Regions from separate parts of the Homo sapiens genome. Here all the other regions are linked to region 3. The links are contacts of gene promoters, found by promoter capture Hi-C in blood cells and fetal thymus (Javierre and others, 2016). All regions are on one chromosome and are shown on one strand. Each heading gives the region's core, a stretch centred on a gene start or on the middle of the fragment in contact. The rest is flanking DNA. Distances are from core to core; before and after follow the strand shown.

Region 1 (3,104 bases), core at 247-2,746, 120 kb after region 3:
CCCTTTTTTGAGTTAGTCAGTTGCTGCTGTTATCAAGCTATGTTGAACTATGGAAACATGGAGAAATTGTAGAATTTGGATGATGCAGTAAAATTATCCCCAGTTGAACTATCAGAACAGTAAGTCCAAGTATTGCCAAGAAATTTGTTATGGAAAATAATGTTGTCATTAACATAATTTTTATTTATTAAAGACAGTGGCTTGGCTGGTACTGTTTAAATTGGCTTCAGCTGCTCATGTATTTATTTGGATATGTATGTGTCGAAAGTCCATTGGTAAGCCAATCGTGAAATCTGCTCCTGACAAGAACAGCAGTGTTAGATGTTCTCCAGAAAGTAGCTACTTGCTATTCTATCCACTTATTTACTGTAATTGGAGAGCAAGCTAATTAATGTCTATAAAGTGACAAGTATTTGCTCCATAATTGAAAGCAGAATTATGATTCATTTAGACAGTTCCTATGATTCTTGGTTTTGGGGGAAGAGATTTATAATCAGCTCTTGAAGATACAGATGAGCCCTTTGGAGAGCTGACCACTTCTCTGCAGAACTTCGTTTGCCTGCTTTTTGGCAGTTTCAGTGCCTGTTTGTTCCTTCACCATAAGGCAGAAAGGGCCAGAGACTGAATTCAAATCCATCTACCTGAATCTTAGCCAGCGAGCACTTTAAAAGAAATTTAAGTAATGAGGAAGGATCATGAGAGTATTGACCAAACTCAGTTTTGTGGATTTTCAGTGCATTATAAGTACTCAAGCTTTCCTACACCTGTCCTGTTTGCTATGAAAAATTTTGTACATTAGCTATTGATTGCCTTGATTTTCTTGTGGAATTACTAATTAGAGGCAAACTTTTATCAGTCATGCAATTATGCCAGCGAAAAAGATATTTGAAAGCACACTTATCCCAGGAGACTTCATCAAGTGGGACAACCCTAAGGGCTGTATTAGTGAGAAGTTCATGGGAGAAGGAGCAGAAAATCTCCTCCATATATCCTAAAAAGGGAGGATTCTCCTGTTTCCCACCCTTCCACGATGAAGGGGGCCTATTTGTGCTTCCTGAAGCCTTGATTTGATGACATTCCTTAGGGTGTGATCCCAGAGCTGAAGTTCAATGTCTGTGCTAATGGTGGCTGTGTCTATGCATAGTGTGTAAATGGACACACTCAATAAACATTGGTAAGCAGCCCAATGAAGGCCACCACTTGCACAAGAGCCAATGCAGATCCCTAGGTAGGGCCACTGACCCTTCAGGACAGAATGGAAGAAACTGCACACAGGGTCCTGGAAAGCTGTTGTAGTTTCTTCATTCTCAAAGGTACTTTCAAGTGCTGAGTGAGACCTCAGTCCCCGCAGACGAGAGCTCCCAGGGTGAGTTCTGAGAAAAGACAGTTAGTGCACTGGTCAGAGCTGGGATTATAGTTGACGCTCCCATTTACTGTGAGGCCACCAATGGGGCAAGTTTGGGCAAGTTACCAAACTTCTTCCCACTTTAGTTCTCTATCTGTAAAAGCCTAAAACTTCTTCCCATTTTAGTTCTCTATCTATAAAATGGAGACATAATCCTTATGATGTTAGAGGACTGGACACATTGGCAAAGCCTGGAGCACCCAGTCTAACCCCCGAGTGGGTAATGTTGTGGTAGATGTTCATGCATGTTATTGTTAAAATTAAGCCCACAATAAATAAGTTGTGTCACTAGAAATTAGGTTGAATCTCTATCATGGTTTATTAAGATCTTCCTCTGGTTGGTGGAGTTTCTGTCTTTGACAGAATTCAGATAGTCTGTTAATAAACAAAAGTACAAATAAATAACCTAAACAATACTTTTTACTGCAAGGAGGTGAATTGAGATAAAGTAGAAACAGAAAGTAATAAAGGTGAACATGTCTTCTCCCAAGTTTTAATTCTTAGGGAGAATAGTGCAGTGGGATTGTTGATTTAAAAACATTGCAAATGGACTAATATATCTAAAATACAGACTCAAGTGACTTGATGATAGCTGTATCTGTTTCCCTCTGAACCAGTTTTCAAAAATTATGATTCAAAAGTGTATGATTATGTAAAAAAAAATTAAAGAAACAACCATCTCTTTGTACCATAACACTTCAATAATTTCCACCTTTTCATGTGTTCTTGGTGAAGTCTTTTTTTTGGTGTGCATGAAGTGTGAAGTGTAGTTCATTTTATTTGTATTTCTTTTTTAAAAAATGTGTAAAACAGTAAAAAGTGGGAGAGTAGAGACAAGCTTCTCGAAGCAATGATGGCCCTGCGGAGCATGTGCCCTGTCACCCATCCTGATGTCTTGCTCATACTGGCCTCTGTTTGCATCTAGATCCCCAGATATATCATCACACTCCATGAGCTCCTTGCTCACACACCCCATGAGCATGTGGAAAGGAAAAGCCTGGAGTTTGCCAAATCAAAGCTAGAGGAACTATCCAGGTATGCCAAGAACTTATAACAAAGGCTTGGGAGAGGAAAGCAGCAAGTTAGTCTCTTGTGGAAACCTCCTGTATATGTTCTAAGGAACAAGAAGCAAAACAAATCCAGCTTCTCAGATTCACCTGAAAGTTAAATAGTAGCTTGTGAGGTGATATTGAATCATCATTCACATTCATTTGAACCAAGAAAAATACGTATCTTGGAAAATGTTCTTATAGCATGTGAATTTATGTAATTCAGATTAGGTGTATTTTGGTTTAAGTTTGGAAATGTTCATGTTTCTTTCAGCATTAAAAAAAAAATGATAGCCAGGTGTGGTGGTGTGCACCTGTAGTCCCAGCTACTTGGGAAGCTGAGACGAGGGTGCAAGGGGTGATGATTATTTGACCCCAGGAATTTGAGACCAGCCTGGGCAACATAGCGAGACCCCATCTCAACAAAAAAGACTCTCAGTTGCATTTTGTATTCATATTTGGTAAGAAGCTAGAGAATGTACAGTTTGCATTTCTCAGTGACTTTTCATTGTTACAAGCACTTATTTATGTCTGTGTTACTTTAGCTTATATGGGATAAATGGTCTAAAGGTCTCTTATTTAGTCTGCCTCCAAGAAATGGCCCCCTAATCTCAATGACGGGAACTGGCCACAAAATGACATGTTGCTTT
Region 2 (3,484 bases), core at 690-3,189, 100 kb after region 3:
AAAGAAAATAGGTTTAATTGGCTCACAGTTCTGCAGGCTGTACAAGCATGGCACTGGCATCTGCCCCACTTCTGGAGAGACCGCAGGAAGCTTTTACTCATGGCAGAAGGCGAAGGAGGAGCAAGTGGGTCATACAGCAAGAGCAGGAACCAGAGAGAGAGAAGATGCCACACATTTTTAAACAATCAGATCTCATGAGAACTCATTCACTGTCTTGAGGACAGCATGAAGCCATGAGGGATCTGTCCCCATGATCCACACATGACCCACACACCTCCCAATAGGCCCCACCTCCAACACTGGAGATTACATCTCAATGTGAGATTTGGGTGTGACACAGATCTAAACCATACCATTCCCCTTGAGGAAACTCACCACTTTGTCATTCCCTAGACAGGCTAGGCCCACTCCCACTGCAGGGCTTTTGCACATACTGTTCCCTGGGCCTGGATGCTGTTCCATCAGCTAGCCACGCATGTCCCTGCTTCAAGTCGTTTCTCCAGTACCATTTCTCCATGAAAGCAGCCCTCACCGCTTGGTTAAAATTGTAACCTCTGCCCCCCTACTTCCTGTTCTCCTCTTACCATTTTTCCTCTACAGTACTCATCACCAGGTGACATATGATAGATTTGTCTTATTAATGTTGTCTTTCTCTCTCTACTACTGTATAAGCTTCATAAAGACACAGATTTTTTTCCTACTGTGTTTACTCCTGTGCCCAGTATTTTGAACAGTTCCCAAATATACAACACTCAGTAAATATTTATTGACTCAAAGAATCAATTTGGACTCGCAGGAACCCAGGAAGAAGGAAATCATGTTACTTATAATCCCAATGCATGAAGTAAATAACTACCATTAGGATTTTATGTATTTTCTCTTTTCTCCCCACTTAATATTACAGAAATATTGGAAAGTATGGAAAAGTACAAAAGAAGTAACTCAAGAAGAAATTAAAAATCACCCATAATTGCTCCAGCCAAAGAAAGCTCCCTTTAAGTTTTGATGTATGTCTCTCATTAGAGTACCTTTCTCTCTGTCTCTCTCTTCCCTTCTCCTCTTCTGCTTATGTCTGTGTATACACTTAATTTTCTCCCTCTGTGTATGAACATATATACATGTACATGTACATATAATGTTTATCTCAATTTCTTGTTTTTTTTTCTGTTTATTTATCAATAAATCTTGGGTATGTGCCATTATGTTATGACTATTTTCAAAAAACATATTTTAAATGGCTTGTTATCATTCCATTATGAAGATATATTATTACTTATTTAACCAATCCCATATTATAAATGTGTATATTTAGATTGTCTCCATTTTCTTATATTTGTTTTTAATGAATGAACATTTTGTTTCTTTTGTATCTCGTTGTGCAAGTGTCAGATTATTTTTCTTGAGTGATATTATTAGAAGTGAAATTATGAAGGCAAAGGATATAACCATTTTGACCTGTTTTGATACATATTGTGATATTGTCTTCTACAATGACTCACTTCAGTGGTACTATATGACAATATCTATTTACTATATCTTTGTTAGCCCTGAGTACTATTTTTCTAAAAATCTTAACCAGTTTTGGTAAATAATTTGTAATTCTTTGATTAAGAAGGACTTTTTTTTTTTTTTGAGACAGGATCTCTCCCTGTTTCCCATGCTGGAGTGTGGTGGTGCAATCATAGCTCACTGCAGCTTCAAAATCCTGGGCTCAAGTGATCCTCCTGCCTCAGCCTCCTTGAGTAGCTGGGACTATAGGTGTATGCTACCACACCCAGCTAATTTATTTCCTTCCTTCTTTCCTTCCTTTCTGAGATAGGGTCTCATTTTGTCACCCAACCTGGAGTGCAGTGGCATGAATACCATCATTGCAGCCTTGATCTCCCGGGCTCAAGTTACCCTCCCGCCTTGGCCCCCCAAGTAGCTGGGGCTACAGGTGCATGCCACCACACCCAGCTTATTTTTGTATTTATTTTGTAGAGATGGGGTTTCACCATGTTGCCCAGGCTGGTCTCAAACTCCTGAGCTAAAGTGATCTGCCTGCCTCAGCCTCCCAAAGTGCTAGGATTACAGACATGAGCCACCACACCTGATCCCAGCTGACAAAAAAAAAAAAAAAAAAAAAAAAAAACTGTAGAGATGAGATCTTACTATGTTGCTCAGGCTGGTCACTCCTGGCCTCAAGCTATCCTCTCACCTCAGCTTCCCAAAGTGTTGGGATTGTAAGCATAGGCCACTGTGCCCAGCAAGAAGGACCCTTTTTCATGCATTTATTAGTCATTTGTTTATTACATTGTGTGAAGCCCTTTTGTGTATTTCTTGACTTACTAATTTTAGCCAGTGTGATTGATTCTCTGGCATAAAAATGAAAAATTTAACACCCTTACAATACCTCTTATGTCCCTGTCTTTTGCCCGCTCTGTTTTTGTTACTTACATATTTTTAGATCTTAAATTGGTTGACTTCATAACTTAAAATAATATAATTAAACCTCTATTGATTTATCAACTTTAGACAGTATGTATTGTCTCTGCTAGGAAAAATAAGTATAATAAGTTAAGACATTTAATGTGTTTTCATTGTTTTTTCTTTTCTAATCCTGAGGTTTTCTTTCATTATTATTTATTCTCACTTTATAAACTTTTAGACATATTCTGTTCTCTAAATTGTTCCTCTGTGTTTTGTCATAGGCTGATTCTGAAAATTAAAAACCAACAAGGAACATTTCCATAGTGGTTATAACAAATATTGTGTCCCAAAGTATCAAGGTTGGTGTTTGGTCCCACAGAGAATGAAATGTACCGTGTCATTGAATATTTGCTCCTTGAAGAAGAACCTTGTGTGTGTCAACTTCTAGTTTCTTTCTACCTTCCTTTACTTCATCTGGCTTGTTTTCTTGCATTCAATGTCATTTTATTGTCTTTGATTTCTGTTTTGTTTGGTTGGAAAACCTCCTCATAATGTTTTCCTGCAGTAAGTGTGTGGGGATAGTAAGTTTTTCCTGTCTTGTCCTGGTACTTGGTCAGTGATTGGTTGTCTGTGTATTGTTTATTGTTTTAGAAATTGTTATGCAGGCTCAAAATATTTTCTCCACAATTCTTTGTTGCCACCTAGAATTCCAAGTTAATGATGAAAAGTATGACAGAAAAAAAAAAACTATGACAGCATGATTCTCACTTCCTTTTGCTACCTATTGTTTCTCTTTGGAAGCTTCTATAATTTTTCTCTATCCTTAGAATTCTGATATTTTACCAAGATGTATCAGAGTATGAAATGTTTTCATTTATCTTGTCTGGTATTTGGATTATTCTATTTGAACTGTGCTATGCTCAGTTCAGGGAAAGTTTCTTCCATTTCTGTTTTTTCTTTTTTAGATGGAGTCTCTCTCTGTTGCCCAGGCTGGAGTGCAGTGGCGTGATCTCGGCTCACTGCAACCTCTGCCTCCCGGGTTCAAATGATTCTCCTGCCTCAGCCTCCCAAGTAG
Region 3 (3,412 bases), core at 771-3,270:
CATGGCAAAATAGTTTTTGTGCTGATTTCACACTCTTACTGGTTTCTACTAAAAAAATGGAGCTTATCAACCACACAGGTGTCTACTCACTTACGGTTCTCACAGCTGGGATTGGACCACAGAGAAAGAAATAAAAGGCCTCCTGAGGCAATCACCAGCTCCTCTGCATCTAGAATCTGGCTCCAAAATGTTGCCTGCATTTACTTACTGTCTCTGTACTTGTGTCTTCTCTGAAGAACAATGCAAACTTCCAGCTGGGTTAAACCCAATTTAGCACAGCACTGTCCTTTAGATATTTTTAAAAACGTAAAGAGAAATGACCACTGTTCTCACGCTGTAATTTCAAAATGGCAATTTCCCTACTATATACTTGTTAAAAGTGAAAATTTTTTAAAAAGGTAAAAGGAAAAAAAAACCCCACTCAGCTGCTCAGTGAGGCAGAGTTAAAATATTCTGCAGAAACAGCACTTATGAAACAGGCAGAACCCCTGGGGCTACCAATTCATGAACACACAACTGGCAGTACAAGACAGGTGTATTGTCGTAGACTCATCACCCAGAAAAGCATTATTATTTACTTTTAACAATAAACATTTTATGATGGCACTCCGTTTTAGTGATAAATGACTGGGGAAAATAAAAAATGTGTATAGCAGAATCAAATATAGGCCCTCCCCGGGGGTTTCACTGGCTTTCTCTCACAGCTGCTGGCTACATTATTTCTTTTCCACTTACATTTTTACAGCATGGGGTTGGGGCGGGGGGGTGGCTCTTGGTTTTCTGGTTGTACCTGTCAGATTTGTTAATCAAATGAATCCAGTCCTACAAACGATGAGCCTGTGACAGCTGGCCTTTGGGGTTGGATTCTGCCCTGGGCAGCAAAGTGTCCCTTATTTGGGTATTTTTTTCCAGGTTGAAAACTCGGCACTTAAAATTTAGCATCTTACCACTGTGAAATAACAGGCATTCCGAAAGAACTTCGGCATCTGATGCCTTTCCGGGAACACTTGGGCCACTCTCCTTAACCTTTACCGGCAGTTTTAAATACTACAATGCAGGTACAAGCAGAAAAGCCAAGGATGCGGGCTATGCAAAGCCACTCTGTGACTCTACCTACTGCCATGGGAACGTACTTATGGATGTGGCATGTGAGTGTGTGTGTATGTGTGAGTGGGTTTGTGAAAGTGTGTGGATTCGTGCGAATACGTGTGTGAGTGCTTTGTGTGTATTTTTGGATGAATTTGTGAATGTACATGTGTGTTCATCTGTGTGTGTGTTTGATTATCTGCTTATGAGTCTGTATGATTGTGAACGTGTGAGTATATGTGTGCTGTTTGTGTGACTGTATGAGTGTAATGTGTGTATGAATGTATGTTTGAATGTGGGTTTGAGTGAATGTGTGGGTTGTGTGTGAATGTGTGTGTAAGTGAGCATATCACTGCGTGCATGTGTGTAGCTCCTTAAGTGTGTATCTGAATGTGGGTTTTATTTTTGTGCGCGGGAACGCACATTGTGGGTGTATTTGTCTATATGCATTTGTGCGTTGTGACTGTGTGTTGAGTGTGAGCGTTGTGAGAATGTGTATTTGTGTGTCATGAGTGTGTGCGCGTGTGTTTTTGTGCATATGTGCGCGCATTGTGTTTGTGTGCATTTGTGAGTGTATTTTTGTGCGTCTGAGTGTGTGCATTGTGGATCTGGGTGAATGTACTGGTCTGCGTGTGTGTGGGTGTGCGTGTGTGTGTGCGCGCGTTGTGCGCGAGTGTGCGAGCGCGTGTGAGCGGGTGTGTGGTGCGGCCGGGCGCCTCCACCTCCCTGATCCGCCCCATCCCGGCGGGCGCCCGAGCAGAGGCAGCGGCCCGGGCCGGGGCGGGCGAGGGAGGGACGCGAGCCGGGGCAAGCGGGCTGCGCCACCGCCGGCGCCGCGCCGACTTTGCCCTTTAAATCGGTCTCCAAGCCGATTACAGCTGAGCTCCCACGTGACGTTTTACCTTCTGTCTCCCGGAGCGCGTTGCCCGAGGACAGTCCTTCCCCGGCTGCCGCCCCAGCCCGCCGCGGGGGCTCGGCTCCCGCAACTTTGGGCGAAGCGGCGGCCGGCTCGGGCGCCCTCGCGGGGCCGCGCTCCACGCGGGCGTTGGGGGCTTGGGGGGCTCCGGGGGCTCGGCCGGGAGGGTGGTGGTTAGGGCGGAGAGCGTGCCTCGGCCCCAGCCCGCGCCCCTGCCACCGCGCGCCGCGGCCTCCCGAAAGCGGGCGGGGTGCCCTGCGCGCGGCGTGGGGAAAGGGGGCGCCCTTCGCCGGCCGGGACCTGAGCGGTCGCGCCCTCGAGGGAGCCAGCTGGGCCATGGCCGCGAGGCAGGGGTGAGACCGGCGGCCACCCGTGAGCCCTCCGCACCCGCACCATGCAGAAGAGCGTGCGCTACAACGAGGGGCACGCCCTGTACCTGGCCTTTCTGGCGCGCAAGGAGGGCACCAAGCGCGGCTTCCTGAGTAAGAAGACGGCCGAGGCGAGCCGCTGGCACGAGAAGTGGTTCGCCCTCTACCAGAATGTGCTCTTCTACTTCGAGGGCGAGCAGAGCTGCCGCCCGGCGGGCATGTACCTCCTGGAGGGCTGCAGCTGCGAACGAACGCCCGCGCCACCCAGGGCCGGCGCCGGGCAGGGAGGCGTCCGAGACGCGCTGGACAAGCAGGTACCGCGCGCCTTCTCTCCGCGGTCTCCCAGCCTTGATCGCCGCACTCCCTTGCCGTCCTAATCCGGGGATCAGGGGTCGGGGGTCGTGAAAGAGTGCGGGGACTATGCTCCGAAATCCCCCCGCGTCACCAGTGGCGGGACATCTCCACGCTCCTTCCGATCTTCATCCAGGGATTCTCCCATCTCCATACCCCTCCACCCCACTGCCAAGTGATCAGTCAGAATAGTGGCCCGACTTGCTTTCATTACCCTGGTAGAGGTCGAGTCGTTTCAGCTTCTCTGCCAACCATCTATTGCTTCTCTAGACCTGGCTCGCCAGATTTTTGTCTGGTGACATGTATTGACACCTGTTGGGTGTAGATTGGCAAGACGGAACTAACTTATTTGGAAAAGTTTGATTTCTGCCATACCCGGCTGGCGCGTGTAGATTTCTTTGCCTGCAGATGTTTGACCACTGGTTGGGCTGGGAACAAGCGGGGCTCCCAAGCCGGACAGACACTTTCTGTTGGTCATTTTCAATCAGTCTTTGTGATTTCGGTCAGTTGGCCTTGCTAACATTTGACCTGCTGGGTGTAATTATGAAGGTAAATGTGTATTCATATTCCTCAGGATTAATATTTGGTAGCCACATTCTTGCTATGTTTAAAAATGTGGGCATTTTTAAAGAACGCTTCTGTACTTTTAAATGAATGCTTTGAAAATGAATGCGACCTTTTAATTCTGGGT

The links. Contacts are between HindIII fragments. The CHiCAGO score rates a contact against its expected background, and 5 or more counts as called.
Region 1: a contact is called between a fragment that was not itself captured here and the fragment with the promoter of RASGRF2 in region 3, in 6 of 17 cell types (activated CD4 T cells, non-activated CD4 T cells, total CD4 T cells and 3 more). The highest score is 10.2, in activated CD4 T cells.
Region 2: a contact is called between a fragment that was not itself captured here and the fragment with the promoter of RASGRF2 in region 3, in 3 of 17 cell types (activated CD4 T cells, non-activated CD4 T cells and naive CD4 T cells). The highest score is 7.5, in activated CD4 T cells.

Annotation. Positions count from the first base shown.
Region 1 is chr5:81,083,472-81,086,575 of GRCh38, forward strand. RASGRF2 (Ras protein specific guanine nucleotide releasing factor 2) reads left to right here. Exons shown (of 27, transcript NM_006909.3): 8 at 2,331-2,440. Among named protein-coding and RNA genes, the nearest start is that of RASGRF2-AS1, 120 kb to the left of the region's middle. The HindIII fragment of the contact is 1,490 bases long and covers 752-2,241 here.
Region 2 is chr5:81,059,894-81,063,377 of GRCh38, forward strand. The region is part of intron 2 of RASGRF2 (Ras protein specific guanine nucleotide releasing factor 2); the gene reads left to right. Among named protein-coding and RNA genes, the nearest start is that of RASGRF2-AS1, 100 kb to the left of the region's middle. The HindIII fragment of the contact is 2,538 bases long and covers 671-3,208 here.
Region 3 is chr5:80,958,343-80,961,754 of GRCh38, forward strand. RASGRF2 (Ras protein specific guanine nucleotide releasing factor 2) reads left to right here and starts at 2,021. Exons shown (of 27, transcript NM_006909.3): 1 at 2,021-2,684. The coding sequence starts at 2,397. It overlaps RASGRF2-AS1 (RASGRF2 antisense RNA 1), which reads right to left and starts at 2,565. Exons shown (of 4, transcript NR_105015.1): 1 at 2,439-2,565. RefSeq lists an enhancer at 2,124-2,845. The HindIII fragment of the contact is 16,452 bases long and covers 1-3,412 here.